2 separate regions of the Homo sapiens genome follow, and region 2 is linked to region 1. The links are contacts of gene promoters, found by promoter capture Hi-C in blood cells and fetal thymus (Javierre and others, 2016). All regions are on one chromosome and are shown on one strand. Each heading gives the region's core, a stretch centred on a gene start or on the middle of the fragment in contact. The rest is flanking DNA. Distances are from core to core; before and after follow the strand shown. Region 1 holds the start of SLC9B1 (solute carrier family 9 member B1). Region 2 has its middle 95 kb from the start of DDIT4L-AS1.

Evidence for each region. Contacts are between HindIII fragments. The CHiCAGO score rates a contact against its expected background, and 5 or more counts as called.
Region 2: a contact is called between a fragment that was not itself captured here and the fragment with the promoter of SLC9B1 in region 1, in 1 of 17 cell types (naive CD8 T cells). The highest score is 5.5, in naive CD8 T cells.

The regions. Positions count from the first base shown.
Region 1 is chr4:103,015,973-103,023,168 of GRCh38, reverse strand. It overlaps SLC9B1 (solute carrier family 9 member B1), which reads left to right and starts at 3,464. Exons shown (of 12, transcript NM_139173.4): 1 at 3,464-3,570. It overlaps SLC9B2 (solute carrier family 9 member B2), which reads left to right. Exons shown (of 12, transcript NM_178833.7): 12 at 1-916. RefSeq lists an enhancer at 3,123-3,623. The HindIII fragment of the contact is 6,332 bases long and covers 2,829-7,196 here.
Region 2 is chr4:100,091,502-100,098,367 of GRCh38, reverse strand. No RefSeq gene overlaps it. Among named protein-coding and RNA genes, the nearest start is that of DDIT4L-AS1, 95 kb to the left of the region's middle. The HindIII fragment of the contact is 4,881 bases long and covers 1-4,055 here.

The DNA of each region.
Region 1 (7,196 bases), core at 2,215-4,714:
GAGGATCCTCTCTCAATATCAGAAAACTACTTGCCACACGACAGTTCGGATCTTAGTCCACTTAGTCTATCTTAGTCAGCTTGGGCTGCTATAACAAAATACCATACACTGGGTGGCTTACACAACAGAAACTTACTTCTATTAAAGGTTGGAAGTTCGAGATCAGGATGCCAGCATTGTTGGGCTCTGGTGAAGTCTCTCTCCCTGGCTTGCCAATGGCCACATTCTCACCCTCTCACTCATGTGTCATCACTTGATGCCGAGAGAGAGCAAGCAAGCTCTCTGGTGTCTCTTCTTATAAGGGTACTCTAATCACAGCATGAGGGCCCTACCCTCATGACCTCATCCAAATCTAATTGCCTTCCCAAATCCTCATATCTAAATACATCACATTGGAAGTTAAGGCTTCAACATATGAATGTGTGGGGAAGGACATAATTCAGTCCCTGAAAGAAGTGTCATATTTCCAAGGACAGTATATTTCTGTCTGGTATTAACTCCCAATCACCTTGATTGATCTTGATGTCCTCAAAATTTCCTCAGGTAAACATTTGCAAATGATCTCATCCACTACATTCTTTAAAAATAGTATTTTTTTCTGATTATAAAGTAACACATTTTCATTGCAAAAAATTTAGAACACAGAAAAATACAAACAAGAAAACTGAAACTAATATAAACATGTATTTTATTTTTCTTTAAAATTGTACTGCAGTTTTGGGGGATGTATTATTTTCAGAAAGATATATCATCAACTGAATTTGTTGGGTGAAAGGCAACATAAGTATTTCATATTTGGCTTTTATGATGCTATGTAGATTGAAGAATTTTTTTGTATATAATGAATGCTAAGCCTTCATGTTTATATTCAGATATTCATTTTGCAATGAATAAAACAGACAAATCCCTGCCTTCATGGAGCTTGTTTTAAAATCCATTTACTCCCTCACTCAGAATATATTATAACATGCCTACTGTGTGCCAGGTCTTGTGCTAGATACTAGGGAATACAGTGATGAACAAGATATTCAAGGGCTTGGTTTTCAATAGAACTTGATTCTAGTGGAAAATTGACAATGTGAGGAATACAAATATGAATAAGACATGATACTTGCCTTTAAGAACCTTAGAAGGAAATAAGATATGTACAAATAGCTATAATCCAAGTGAATAATTCAAAAGTGTTTTTAGTGTAGAAGTTGAGGAAATCTTAGAGGAACTGATACTTGAACTAGACCTTCAAGAATGGAGAGGATCTGGATGGATGGGGTAATATTAGGGAGTAAGGTGAAGATGGGAACAACTAGTGTGGGAGGCTGGCATATTAGCAAAGTTTTGAAAACAGTAAAGCCTGGAGCATAGAAAGTGATTGGCACTTGAGATTGATGAAGAGAATTAGAGATAAGACTAGAAAAGAAAGTTGGCACTGAAATCATACTAAATAGATCATTGGCTAAATATTTTTATTGAAGTACTTTCAGAAGTATGAAACTATGTAGAAAGTGTTAAAACTTTTTTTATCATGTCATGTATAGTTTTAAAAAATTGCTCTCAGTTAAGATTCTCCTTATTCCTCAAAAGCTTTTGCTTTCCATGACTTTGTTGCAAATATAATCAATTTACTTATTTTTAAAACTTAATTTTTATAAGAAAGGTTATCAGATGATTGTTTAAATGTTTTTTATTAGTAAATTTTCATTATATTGTCTCCCAAAGAACCACTGTATTTTTTTAATGTCTCAGAACATTATATTTTTATATGAATCATTTATGTACCTCTCTGTAACAAGTGGGAATTGCTTCATGGCATTTGGGGAGTACGTAATATTATATTTATAGTTGACTGACTCAAATCCAGCCTGAGCCCTCTGGCCTGGTGAGAATTCCAAAACTCCATTTGTTGATGTGCGCTCCATCTTCCTTACATGGACCCTAAAGCACTTACCTCTCCAGGAGCCCATTCCTTCTAGAGCATAAGAGTAGTGCCTTGGAGGCAAACAGACTCCTAGCAAAGGTCTTCCTTCCCAGGTTTACCATTTGTCCCAACTCCCATTATCTTTAGGGATCTACCTGCTTTTCCTGTGAGTACAAAACATTTCCTTTTCATGAGTACAAAACATTTCCTTAACCCTATAATCATGAAACCCTGTCTACTCTCCTGAAACGAGGAAGAAAAATAAATCCTTGCTGAGATGTCTATAACACGTTGAAGGAGGGAAGGTGTTAAAAACAATAAAAAGGGCAGGGCTGTGGTGGCTCACGCTTGTAATCCCAGTACTGTGGGAAGCCAAGACGGGCAGATCACTTAAGTCCAGGAGTTCAAGTCCTCCTGGGCAATATGTGAAACTCCTCTCTACTAAAAATACAAAAATTAGCCGGGGGTAGTGGTGCCCACCTGTAGTCCCAGCTACTCAGGAGGCAGGAGGATCGCTTGAACCAAGGAGGAGGAGGCTGCAGGGAGCCTAGATCGCACTGCACTCCAGCCGGGGTAATAGAGTGAGACCCTGTCTCAACAACGTCAACAAAACCAATAAAAAGATAATTTCGTATTTAAGTTACCCAAGAAGGAACGGTAATTTGGATCAGATCTTAGATGATGACTAAGAAAAAGAACACTCCGGTAGAGGAATTAACTTTACAGAACGCACTGAGGCAAAAAGGAATACAGTGTTCAAGAGTAAACATTGAGTGTCAGGAGAAACATTAGATAGGAAAGGGCAGTTTGTCTTTCTAAGAAGTTTACACTTTCTCCAATAACAGTTGTTTTTGTCTTTTATAGGAAGCGCGGATTCTATTACTGGAAACTTTGGGACTGAAAGGCCAAAGCTTCTGGGCCCACCATCAACGCAGCTCCGCTTTCATTTCTTTCACATACAACTTTCCACATAAGATTTCATGCGGAAAAAAAAAAAAAACTCACAAAGGTTTTATACTGATAACAGTATATTAAGTGTTTACTTTGTACACAGCGTCTTTGTTCCAGACACTTGCCATGTCTCATTTATTCTCACACCACCACCACAGCGTCCTTTACAGATGAGAAGACAACCTCAGGGAGACGATGTATTTGCCTAGGTCCCATAGCTAGCAAGTGACAGCGCTGCAGTTTAAGCTCAGGCCGTCTTGGGGAGAGACCGTGCTCTTCTACCATTGCACTTTAAGCTGACTTTAGGGGAAACACAATCTGAGTTTTGACAAGTTTACTTCTGGCACATGCAGTCCCGAGCACTGCTTTTTGGCTAAAATGCCCAGTGATGTCAACTCTGTCCCTGGATTTCTACAACCCGATGAGTCAATATTCAGAAGAGACGTCGAAAGGAAAGGGTTCAATAGACAGAAAACACACCAGACAGTCCCAGAAACCCCAGAACCCTCGCCTCTGCCGGCGCGGACAGCCAAGACGTCACTTAAACGCGCTGCCGCCTCCTCGCCCCGCCCCGCCCCTGCGCGGAAGTCTATCCGGGCTTTCGCGTCACCACCCTGCCCACCTGGGTGGCGCGTGGCTTACGCAACGGTCACTGGGCTCCTGGGCCGCTCCCGGGCCAGCGAGGGCTGCGAAAGAAGTTGTAGGTACGGCCCATTTTTCTTAACGCCGCCCTTCCAAGCCCTTTGGCGCTAGTCCCGGGTCTGCCGCGATCGTTTCCTTGCGGTAGGCCGCAGGAGGGCCTTTCCTCCCCCTCAGTTCAATGGGATTCTTGGGCTCTTCTCCCAGACGCTGAGGGAACAGCCACAGACATTGTCTCTCCTCTCCGTGACTCCTTTCCTTACTCCGTCATCCCACATCTCTCTTGTTTGTTCTCTTTTCCTCCTGTTTTTCTTATTTTACAAATACTCGCCAGTAAGAAAGAAGAGATCTGTCAGTTAAGATTGACCTCAAAATTAATTTTATTAAGCGTGTACTATTTTACAAACGGTGGATCCCTGCAAATAAACCTTCACATACATGCTCCTGCGACTGGAGATTCTGGGATTGGTTGCCGATCCTGAGAAAGCTCTCTTCCCCCACCCACCCACATCCACGCCCCTTAATCCTGTTTACTCCTCTTGGCTTTAACCCAGGGGACAAGCACTTCCAGCAGTCCCCAACCTTTTTGGCACCAGGGATCAGTTTCATGGAAGACAGTTTGGGGTGGGGGGCAAGATGGGATGACACTCTTCTATCTCAGATCATCAGGCATTAGATTCTCTTGAGAAGGCGCAATTTAGATCCCTCACATGCGCAGTTCATAATCAGGTCTGTGCTCCTATGAGAATCTAATGCCTTTGCTCATCTGACAGGAGCTGGAGCTCAGGCATAATCCTCTAGCCCTGCTCACCTGCTGTGTGGCCTGTTCCTAATAGGCCACAAACCTGTACCTGTCTGCTGCCCAGGGGTTGGGGATCCCTGCTTTAGACCAGTGCTTTTGAAGGAAAAAGGAAAGTTGCACACATACTGTGTCTGTCACATCAATCAGTAGTGTTACAAGAGCTCTTCACGGGACCATACCAGGTCCCTCACTCCCCCTCTATGGGTGTCCTAGAGCCTGTGAAATAACAGATTTGGTGATGTGGGGAGACAACTGGCCCAGGTGGCACTGAGGGAGGCCACACCCCACTCTCTGATTTTCCTTAGAGATAAATATAATTATGTGTGCAACAGAAGCATGAAAAATGACACTTATTATTGTCACCCCTAGAGAATTCATGCCCCAAATATTTTAGTCACTGTGTGCCTATGAAAAGGGCATTCATAGGTATTGTCCCCTGTGAGTACCAGAATTTTTTTTAACTTACTTTTTAAAATTCTATACAGATTTAGTTAGTACAAGTTCAGTTTTGTTGTGTGGATATATTGCACAGTGGTGAAGTCTGGGCTTTTAGAGTACCAGAATTTATACTGCTGTTTTTCAGTTGGCTCTTGTCATAAGGTCCTGCCAATTACTAGACACAAGGAAATAGGTGGGTGCTATAGTTGTAACATATAAAGTATCGTTTTTATAGTACTTCTCATTTTGTACTTATTTTTGTACTCATCCTGTTTAAACACTTCTGTTGGTTAACCAAATCCCATGTTACTGTGGTGTTTACTAAACACTGAGATTGAATAGTACCTGGAACATAGTGTAATATATGTTCAATAAATATTTTTTGAGGGAATGAATGGATGAGCTTCTGAAGAAGCCATACCTTAGCCACTTTTGTTTTTCCTGGATCCAGAGCTTAGTCTAGCAGTAGTAAACTCACCAGTGTGAGTTAAGTAGAGAAGTCAAGTGACTTGCTTAGGGAAAGGCATTCATTAAGTATTTTTTAAAGAATATCCTACTTTGTCAGGCGTTGTTTTAGGCATTGTGAATACAATGGTAAGAAAGACTAGCAAGATCGCTGTTCTTATGAAGTTTAAATTCTAGTGAGTGTAAGATAGAAAATAGGTAAACTATATGAGCAAGGAATTTTGGATAATAGTAAGCACAGTGAAGAAGTAAAACTGTAAAGGTCTTCCTTAAGACTGGGGGAGGGGTTAGTTTAGATTGATTGCTTAGTGATATTTTTAAAAACCAACCATGGAAATATTTGGGATCAGCGCACTACAGGTAAAGGCAACTCCAATTGCAAGAGCCCTAAGGAAGGAAAGAACTTGGCTCCTTCCAGGAACATCATCAAGACCACTGAAGCTAAAATGTAGAGAAAGTGGTACAGGATGAGCTTGGAGGGATAGGTAGGGGCCAAATCATGTAAGGCTTTGAATAGGCCATGGAAATCTACCCATGGAATAAGTTTGGAATTTATTTAAAGTGTAAAGAGAAACCAGTAGTGAGTTGGAGGGAGTGATAGGATCTGATTTACATTGTAAAAAGGTTTGTTCTGCCTATTATGTGATGACTGAATCATACTGGGTGGGGAGCAAGATCTATAGCAGAAGATAATTGCAGAAATCCAAAGAGGAATGACAAGTTTGGGATAAAATAGCAGAGAAGTAGATGTATGTGAGCTCTATTTTGGGGGCAGAGCCTACAGATTTTGTGATGTTTTGAATATAGAGGTGATGAAAAAGGAGTCACCTCTAGCCCCTAAATTTTTGTCTTGAGCTTGTGTGGATGATTGTGCCATTTACCAAATGGAAAAGACTAAGGAAGAAAAAGGAGCAGCCAGGGCGGTGGGAGGGGGGAGTTTTATTTTGCTTACCTTAATTTTTACATTCTTATTAGAAATCAAAGGTAATTTGAGGCTTCAGCTCTGTGCAGAGTGCAAGGAACCAAAGATGCAAAGTTGGGAGTCACCAGCATATGGAAAACTACCTAGGGCAAGTGTGCTCACCGATAACATTGCAGTGACTAGTGTAAAGCAGAGGAAAAGAAGCCAACAAAAGAGATGGAAGAATAGCCAATGAAGTAGGAAGAAAATCTGAAGAGTGCAGTGACATAAAAGCCGAGACTGGCCGGGCATGGTGGCTCATGCCTGTAATCCCAGTACTTTGGGAGGCTAAGGTGGGTGGATCACCTGAGGACGGGAGTTCCAGACCAGCCTGACCAACATGGAGAAACCCCATCTCAATTAAAAAAAAAAAAAAAAAAAGCCAAGACTACAAAACATGGCCAACAGTACTGAATCATGCTTAGAAGTCAAATAAAATAAAGAGATCTGTGCATTGGGTTTTGGAAACATTAAGTAGTTATATGCCTTGACTAGTACAATAAAGAGAAAATGTGGTGTCAAGAAATTGACATAGTACTGCTGGCTGGGCAGAAATTGACGTAGTACTATAGACATCTCAAGATGTTTTACTATGAAAGAGAGCCAAGAAATGGAGGTAATAGAGAAATATGTATGGTCAAAGAAGGGTTCTTAAAGATAAGGACACTTAAGCATATTTAGACTGAGAATAATCCAATAGAGGGGGGTGGAAATGATGGTATAAGAGAGAGTGTGTATATTTTAGGAGTGAAGTCTTTGAGAAAATGAGAGGGTATGGAATCCAGGGAATATATAGAAGTATTGGCCTTAGGTAGGAACATGAACATATAAACATATACTTTCCTTTTTTTTTTTTTTTTTTTGAGACAGAGTTTGGCTCTTGTTGTCCAGGCTACAGTGCAATGGAGCAATCTCAGCTCACTGCAACCTCTGCCTCCCGGGTTCAAGCGATTCTCCTGCCTCAGCTTCCTGAGTAGCTGGGATTACAGGCGCACACCAACACACCATGCCTGGCTAATTTTTTG
Region 2 (6,866 bases), core at 366-2,865, 2.9 Mb after region 1:
GTGCTGGCTCTTAGCTGGGGCATTTTGGTTCTCCCTCACACGCCGTCTCTTTCTCCGTGATTTCCCATCTTCAAGAGCTTTTCCTCATGACCTTCCTCTTCAGCAGGATGGCCTAGATTTCCTTACGGCATCGAGGACGAGATCCAAGACAGCAAAAGCAGACTCTGCCAAGCCTCTTAATGGCAAGGCCCTGAAGCAGCAGAGCTTCACTTCTGCCACCTCCTATTGGTTAAAGCCTGTCACAAAGCCTGTCGAGATTCAGAAAAAGAGAGATAGAACCCACCTCCTGATAGAAAAAAGCTGCACATGCATAAAGAAAGGAGAGGATTTGACAGCTATCTTTGAAGAGTATCTGCCCCATTAAGCCATGGGATATTTTCCCCATAAAAGAAAGGACTATGATCTGGATTGTAGAAACTGATCTATAGACATGAATCTGAACTTAAGAGAATTTGACTAATTCCATCTGTTCAAACTGTCATCACTCACACATATTTCTGTAAGTATTCACTCTCACATGTTAGCATCAATAAAGATTTCATGAAAAATAAAGAGTCTTAATTCAGAGAGGATGAAACATGCAAAAACAGTTGTGCCATCAAATTATTTGTACCTAGCAAACTAAACATCCTCCAACAAAATAAATATTTGTAAGGAGGAATGCTTGACTACAAAACTATTTACAAATATGAAAATTAAACAAGAGTTAATTCTAACCGATGTCAACTTAAGAAAGTGAAAACGTCTTCTGCCCTGGCTTTTCCATTTTACTACCCTGTAACTATTAATGGAATCACTCTATCCCCATCAGGGAAGCTCAGATTCTCTAAAGGTAGTAATGATTCTTCCTTTCTTCCCCTTATCAATTATTCCTTCATTGTATGTCTCACATTCACCCCTCCTCTTCAGCTCCTTATCCACAATATAGCTCAGATTTTCACAGCATTAAAATAAAGGGACTATAGTTTCCTCCTATCTCTGAGTTCATGCCCACTCCGAGCCCAGTACACCTGAACAATGGTATTCCAAAAATACGTCTCATCTTCCCATGTTCCCACTCAAAAACTTCAGTGGCTCTTCACTCTCTCCACCGCCCTGGTCAGGGCTGGGAGGATGGTTTTCACATGCCATGAAGGGATTTTTTTTTTCTTTCTTTTCTTTTTTTTTTTTTTTTTTTCAAAAACTAGATGCCTCTCATTGGAACTTTTTACTAGATGGCTGCCTGTGCCTGCTCTTCTCCCCTCCCCACAAAACACACTCACATGCACTCAAGAAAAGAGGATAATAATCACTGGTCAGAGTGTATCACATCCCCAGGCGCTGGCCTAGGAAAAAAAAAAGTTTAAGAACTACTGGACTATAAAAGAATGTCCAAATTCCTTGTCAGGTACTTGAACTCATATCCAATCTATTTATCTTCTTTATATTTGTTTCCACCAAGCCTGACTGAAAACCTTTTACTACTAGAAACAGGATAAAATCAGTTAGGGAACTCGGTCCCCACTATTGCCAAGTTTACAGCATAATGGGAGAGAAAAACACAACATATTCAGAACATGAAGGTAGAAAGCCAAGGTGCCAAAGGCAGCGAGGGAATGCAGGCTCATGGTTCCAGAGCAAAAAGGAGAGCTCTGGCCTCCTCAGTCATCCTGGATTAAGAAGAAGAGTTTCTCTGCTTGGGTGTCATATAATAACTTCCTCTCTATGAAAATGTTGTACAAGCAACTGTTTATTCTCTTATTCCTAGTCTCACCTCATGCCAAACAAGGGTGTGGGCAAAACAGCAGGCTCAGGATCCAAGACAACATAACAATTTTCTGACAGATCCTGAAAACAAGTAAGATATATTCTGGTAGATTTTGCTAACCACCCAAAGTGTCTAAAGTGGGAAAGAAAACAAAATAAAACAAAAAAAAAGGAGAGACTGTGGGTATGTGTCATTCATTCATATTTTGTAAGTTGCCCTACTGTTTGTTTTGTCAGCTATTTTTAATAATAATAAGCAAAACAGAAAAACAGAGTCACAAATAGAAGATGCATATTTAGGGTCTCTAGCTAAGCAACAGGAGATGACAAAGTAAGAAACAAGGTCAGATTCTCCTGAAACCCAGAAAGGGTTGACTCATACAAGGGCCTCATTGTGTACCTCTCTGACTTCCACCAGAGGGAGCGTGTTCTGTGCGAGCGAGCACGTCTGCGTTTGCTAATTATCCTCACAGGACAGCGGGGACTGGAAGGTGGAAAGAACACAGGCAAAGCTGGCTTTGATCCTGGTTTCATCACTTTCTTGCAACATAAACCTCAGTTTCCTCAGTCAACTTTCTTTCCTCTGTGAAAATTAAAAGATAAAACTTTCCTTGCAGATAATTTGGTGAAAATTAAGAGATGATAAGCGTGAAGAGACTGGCTCACAGTGGACACTCAATAACTTGCAGCTACTATTAATATTACTTTTGTTAACCCTAAGCCAAGGCCACCACTCTTTAACCCATAACCATATGCCCCAGTGAAAAAGCACAGTGAGACCACCAGTGTTAGCAAATCTTCCCAACAACTCAAGAAACCATCAAAACTCATGAGCTGTAGGAGGGTAGGCAAATACTAACTTCTTTAAGTTTTTTCCTCATACACATCAGGATAATAACATCAAACTTCTAAGGATTCAAGAGAAATTATTTTAGATTTCAGTTCGGGTTAGAACCTGGCACATAAGAAGGCTCAATAAATGGTAAATGTTGTTATTACCATTCCTCTTTTTCAAATTTTAAAAGTGAGAATAGATTGACATTGTTCTTTTCAAGAGGCTGAATTTTCAGACATCTTCTCTACCAAATGATGTCACCCCCTGTCTCCCATGAGCACAGATGAAATTAAGACCCCACCTTTGAATGTTCCTTTTCAGATCTTCTTTTTCCTTTCCTTACTTTGTTTTCCTTTGAAAGTGGCCATTGATGTTTTTAAAAAGGGTTCTACTAGTTTATCCGTTGTATCTATTTTAAGGCACTGTTGGGTGGGGAGATGGTAACGTGAGCACAAATAAATTACATCATTATCATTTTCTCCTACGTTGACCATGGTTAAGGTTTTAGTCATGCGCAAGTGACTTAAAATTACATAATATGTATTTTGGCAATCCATCCTTGCTGTAGTTCAGCTCCCTGAATTTCAGAAGAAATGGGCCACTTAATAAGCCTCATCCAAGGGACTTCAGAGTCATTTCACCTTCATAAATCCTTGGAATTTCTACATGATAAAACTAGATTATGCAGAAGGTGTAATACATGAGGATGAGGCATATTTCCAGCAAATACGTAAGCACTGGGAGACTAATAATAGCCAAACACCTTACTCTACTAACAATTAGGAGGAATATAAGAAGAGGGTGCTTTGGTGTTTGAAGCGTCTAAGCCTTGGTTTCTTATTTTACACTTTCGTTTGGAGGGCAGATTGTTTTGAGTCAACATAAAGTGACTTCAGCTGAAGGGAGACTGGGATGTTCACAGTGGGCCTATAAACATTTTTAAAAACATCATTCAACGTTGATTCTGCCTTCACGGAGAGCCTACACTACACCAGGCACTGGGTTGGGCACTGTGACAGGGCTGATTCAAATAAACCCTTATGATATTTCCCTGTTGCTAAACTTCCAGAGTATTGACTGGCAATTTTTGGCCAACCTTCAAGCCTGATACATTCTTCTTTATTTGTCAATCTACCCTTTTGGTAATGTGGTAAAGAATCAAGTGTTTCTCTTCAGCAGCAATTCATCAGATAATTGCTCACTTTATTTAGTTGATGTGGACACAGCCAATCTATGTCATTCTGGTCAAAATAATACATTTGCCCTAACATTAGTGTTTTTTGTTTGTTTGTTTGTTTTTACTCTGAATTAAGCACATGAGGCCCTCAACAGAACCTGCATTAGACATAGCACCTGGTGGACAAAATATCCCTAATAAGCATTTGCTTGATTACATTCAGGCTTTAATTTTATTATCTAGAAAAGTGCTATTTCACCTTTATAGGTTTGGATTTGGTTATGTACTTTAAAAGCTTCAGGTAAAACAATGAGTAGATTCCTTTGTGAGAGCCCTCACAGTAAAACCAGAAGGCTGAAGGATACTGAGAGCATAGCCTGGATTGCGGATCCTAATTGACCAGTGCTGTGGTCTTACCTGGGTCATTTATCAGCTGTAAACAGTAGGCAAATTGTTTAATCTGAATGTCTCCTTCCTAATATTAGCATTTAGAACAATAATTCCAACTGGATGAGGTTATTTTTGAGATTTAATAATATAATAAATGTAAAGCCCATGGCATATATCAGACTTTTAATACATGTTTATTTCCTTTTTTCCCTCTCTCCTAGCAAAAATTTAACTTTGTCTTGAAGCTTGCCAAATAAGAAGGCCCCCAAAGTTGCTTGCTCTTGCAAGGATTACAGACTCTCATATTCACTCAAGTACTTAAGAAGTGTCAGGCACATTCCAAACTCCAAAGGAAATTAAATGCTGTTCCCCTGCCACCCACTCTGTCCCCCAGGGACCCCAAGCACATTAAAATAACATTAAGGCAATGATTTAAGCTGAAAATTGGGCTGCCAGGGAAAGCACCAGGCCCCAGTTCTCAGAAGCTTAGCTATACCTATGGGCACAACAGGGTGGCTCCCCTGGCTGGCTGACGTCAGAGCTTAAAGTTGTTTTTACCCCTGGCATTTGTGGGAAGGAAAGGGAGGGGTGAGGAGCGCGGGTGCCTCTTGTTCATTAAAAAAGCCTTCTGGGGACCCCTAGTGGCCACCAGCTATCATAGGTTTCTCTGCCAAAAGAAATCATGAGGCCTCAGGAAAACTACCTGGGGCTTCAATTGTATTTGTCTTCGTTCTCTCCTCAGTGATCCAAGTTTTTTCTCGGAAGTTAGTGGTTAAAAGGTAACCACTTTGTAACAGGCCTGTACAGCTCTCAAGTTTAGAAATTGGAGTTACGGGTGGCATAGACATCAAAATGATGGCATCAAATTGAAGGAGAGCTCTGAAATCCTCTTTTAATCCTCACCAGGAAAGCAGAAGGCAGAGCAAGCAGGCTGAAGACTGACAGAGAAGCATTTGCATGTCCTCCATGAGCCCTGATTTTCATGGGAACAGCTGTCTCAGTGACTGCATACAAGGTCCCACTTCTTAGATCTGTTCCCGGAGACGCAAGAGAAGAAGTAGAATAATAAGTCAAGGCTGTCCTGCTCATAAACAAATGTCAGACTCTTGTAGCTGGTGTGTTTCTGCTTCCTGAGTCTTTATTTCCCAAACCCCAGTGAACATAAGCAATAAAGCTATATCATGCTGGGGAATAAATAATAAATGATTCAGCCTCGACTCCAGGCATGTGTGGAGAATAGATATGGACCCAGCAAGGATTTATATACACAAAGCACCACGACACTCCTGGTGAGAAACTTTTCCTTTCGGGGAGAAACTGAGAAAACACAAGTTTGTTTCAAAGTGGAACAGGGGGTGATTTTGGAAACAACATAGTGTTAGTCATTCAGATTAATCTTCAATTCAGCCCTCCAAGCCTCAGTTCTTTCCTCGCAATGATGAGGCCCAAAGCTAACTCCTCTTTCGGCAATTAAAGAAGAGAGTGCAACACCACACTTAACATCCACTAACAGATGAGGTACCAGAAGCTTCAGCGTAGCCTAGAGACAGCACACTAGGCATAGCTATTAAGGACCCACCTTCAGAAATTTGCAATCTTGTGTTGTTAAATTAAATAAGCAGGAGACCATTGGCCTGGGACTGTCTCATATTTTGAGGTCCTACATAACAAACCACAACCTAATCTAGTACATAAACAAGCCAAAACCTAACTTAGGAGTATATTTTCTTCTTGCGAGTAGCCAAGTTTCAACCAATCACAAACAGCTGACCATCAAGCCAATCACAGGGAGCCAACTGATCAGATCATGCTCAAATAAGGCAGATGCCTCAACACGCCGTGGCCCAAAAAGGCAAATGCCTAGCCGAAGCCAATCAGATGATTTTTTTTCTATTTTTCTTCTGTGTTCATCCTATAAAAGCTTACTGCTTACACTGCTGGGTGGAGCTCTTAAAACCTCTTCCGGTTCTGAGTATTGCTCAATTCACGAGTTGTTCTTTGATCAAATAAAGTCTGTTAAACGAATTTGTCTAAAATTCTTCTATAACAATATCTCTGGCTTTCTTGCTGACTGTCCTGCCTTAGTGGTCACTGGAGGTAGAGCTATCACTTGCGGCATTAGCTGCGACAGGAAACATCACCCCAGGCAGCCAGAACAGAAAAGGAAAATGGCAGACAGCACAGGTTTTCAAGGACTAGCTTGTCATTCATGAGTCCTTTGAGCATGCTTTTTGTAGTGGATTCAATGGTTACACCCCAGAAAGATATGTCTATGTCCAATCCCCTGGAACCCATGAACATGATCTTATTTGGAAAAAGGGATTTTGCTGATGTCATTAAATTAAAGGTCTCGAGATGAGATCATTCTGGATTATCCAGGTAAGCCCTAAACTCAATGACAAGTATCCGTATAAAAGACACAGGGATCAGACTGACCAACATGGAGAAACCCCACCTCTACTAAAAATACAAAATTAGCCTGGCGTAGTGGCGCATGCCTGTAATCCCAGCTACTCGGGAGGCTGAGGCAGGAGAATCGCTTGAATCTGGGAGGTGGAGGTTGCGGTGAGCCAAGATCACGCCACTGCCCTCCAGCCTGGGCAACAAGAGAAAAAAAAAAAGAAAGGTACAGGGGTGAGATATAGAGAGACAGATATGAAAGTCATATAGAGACTGAGGCAAGTAATGGAATTACACAGCCACAAACCAAGGAATGCC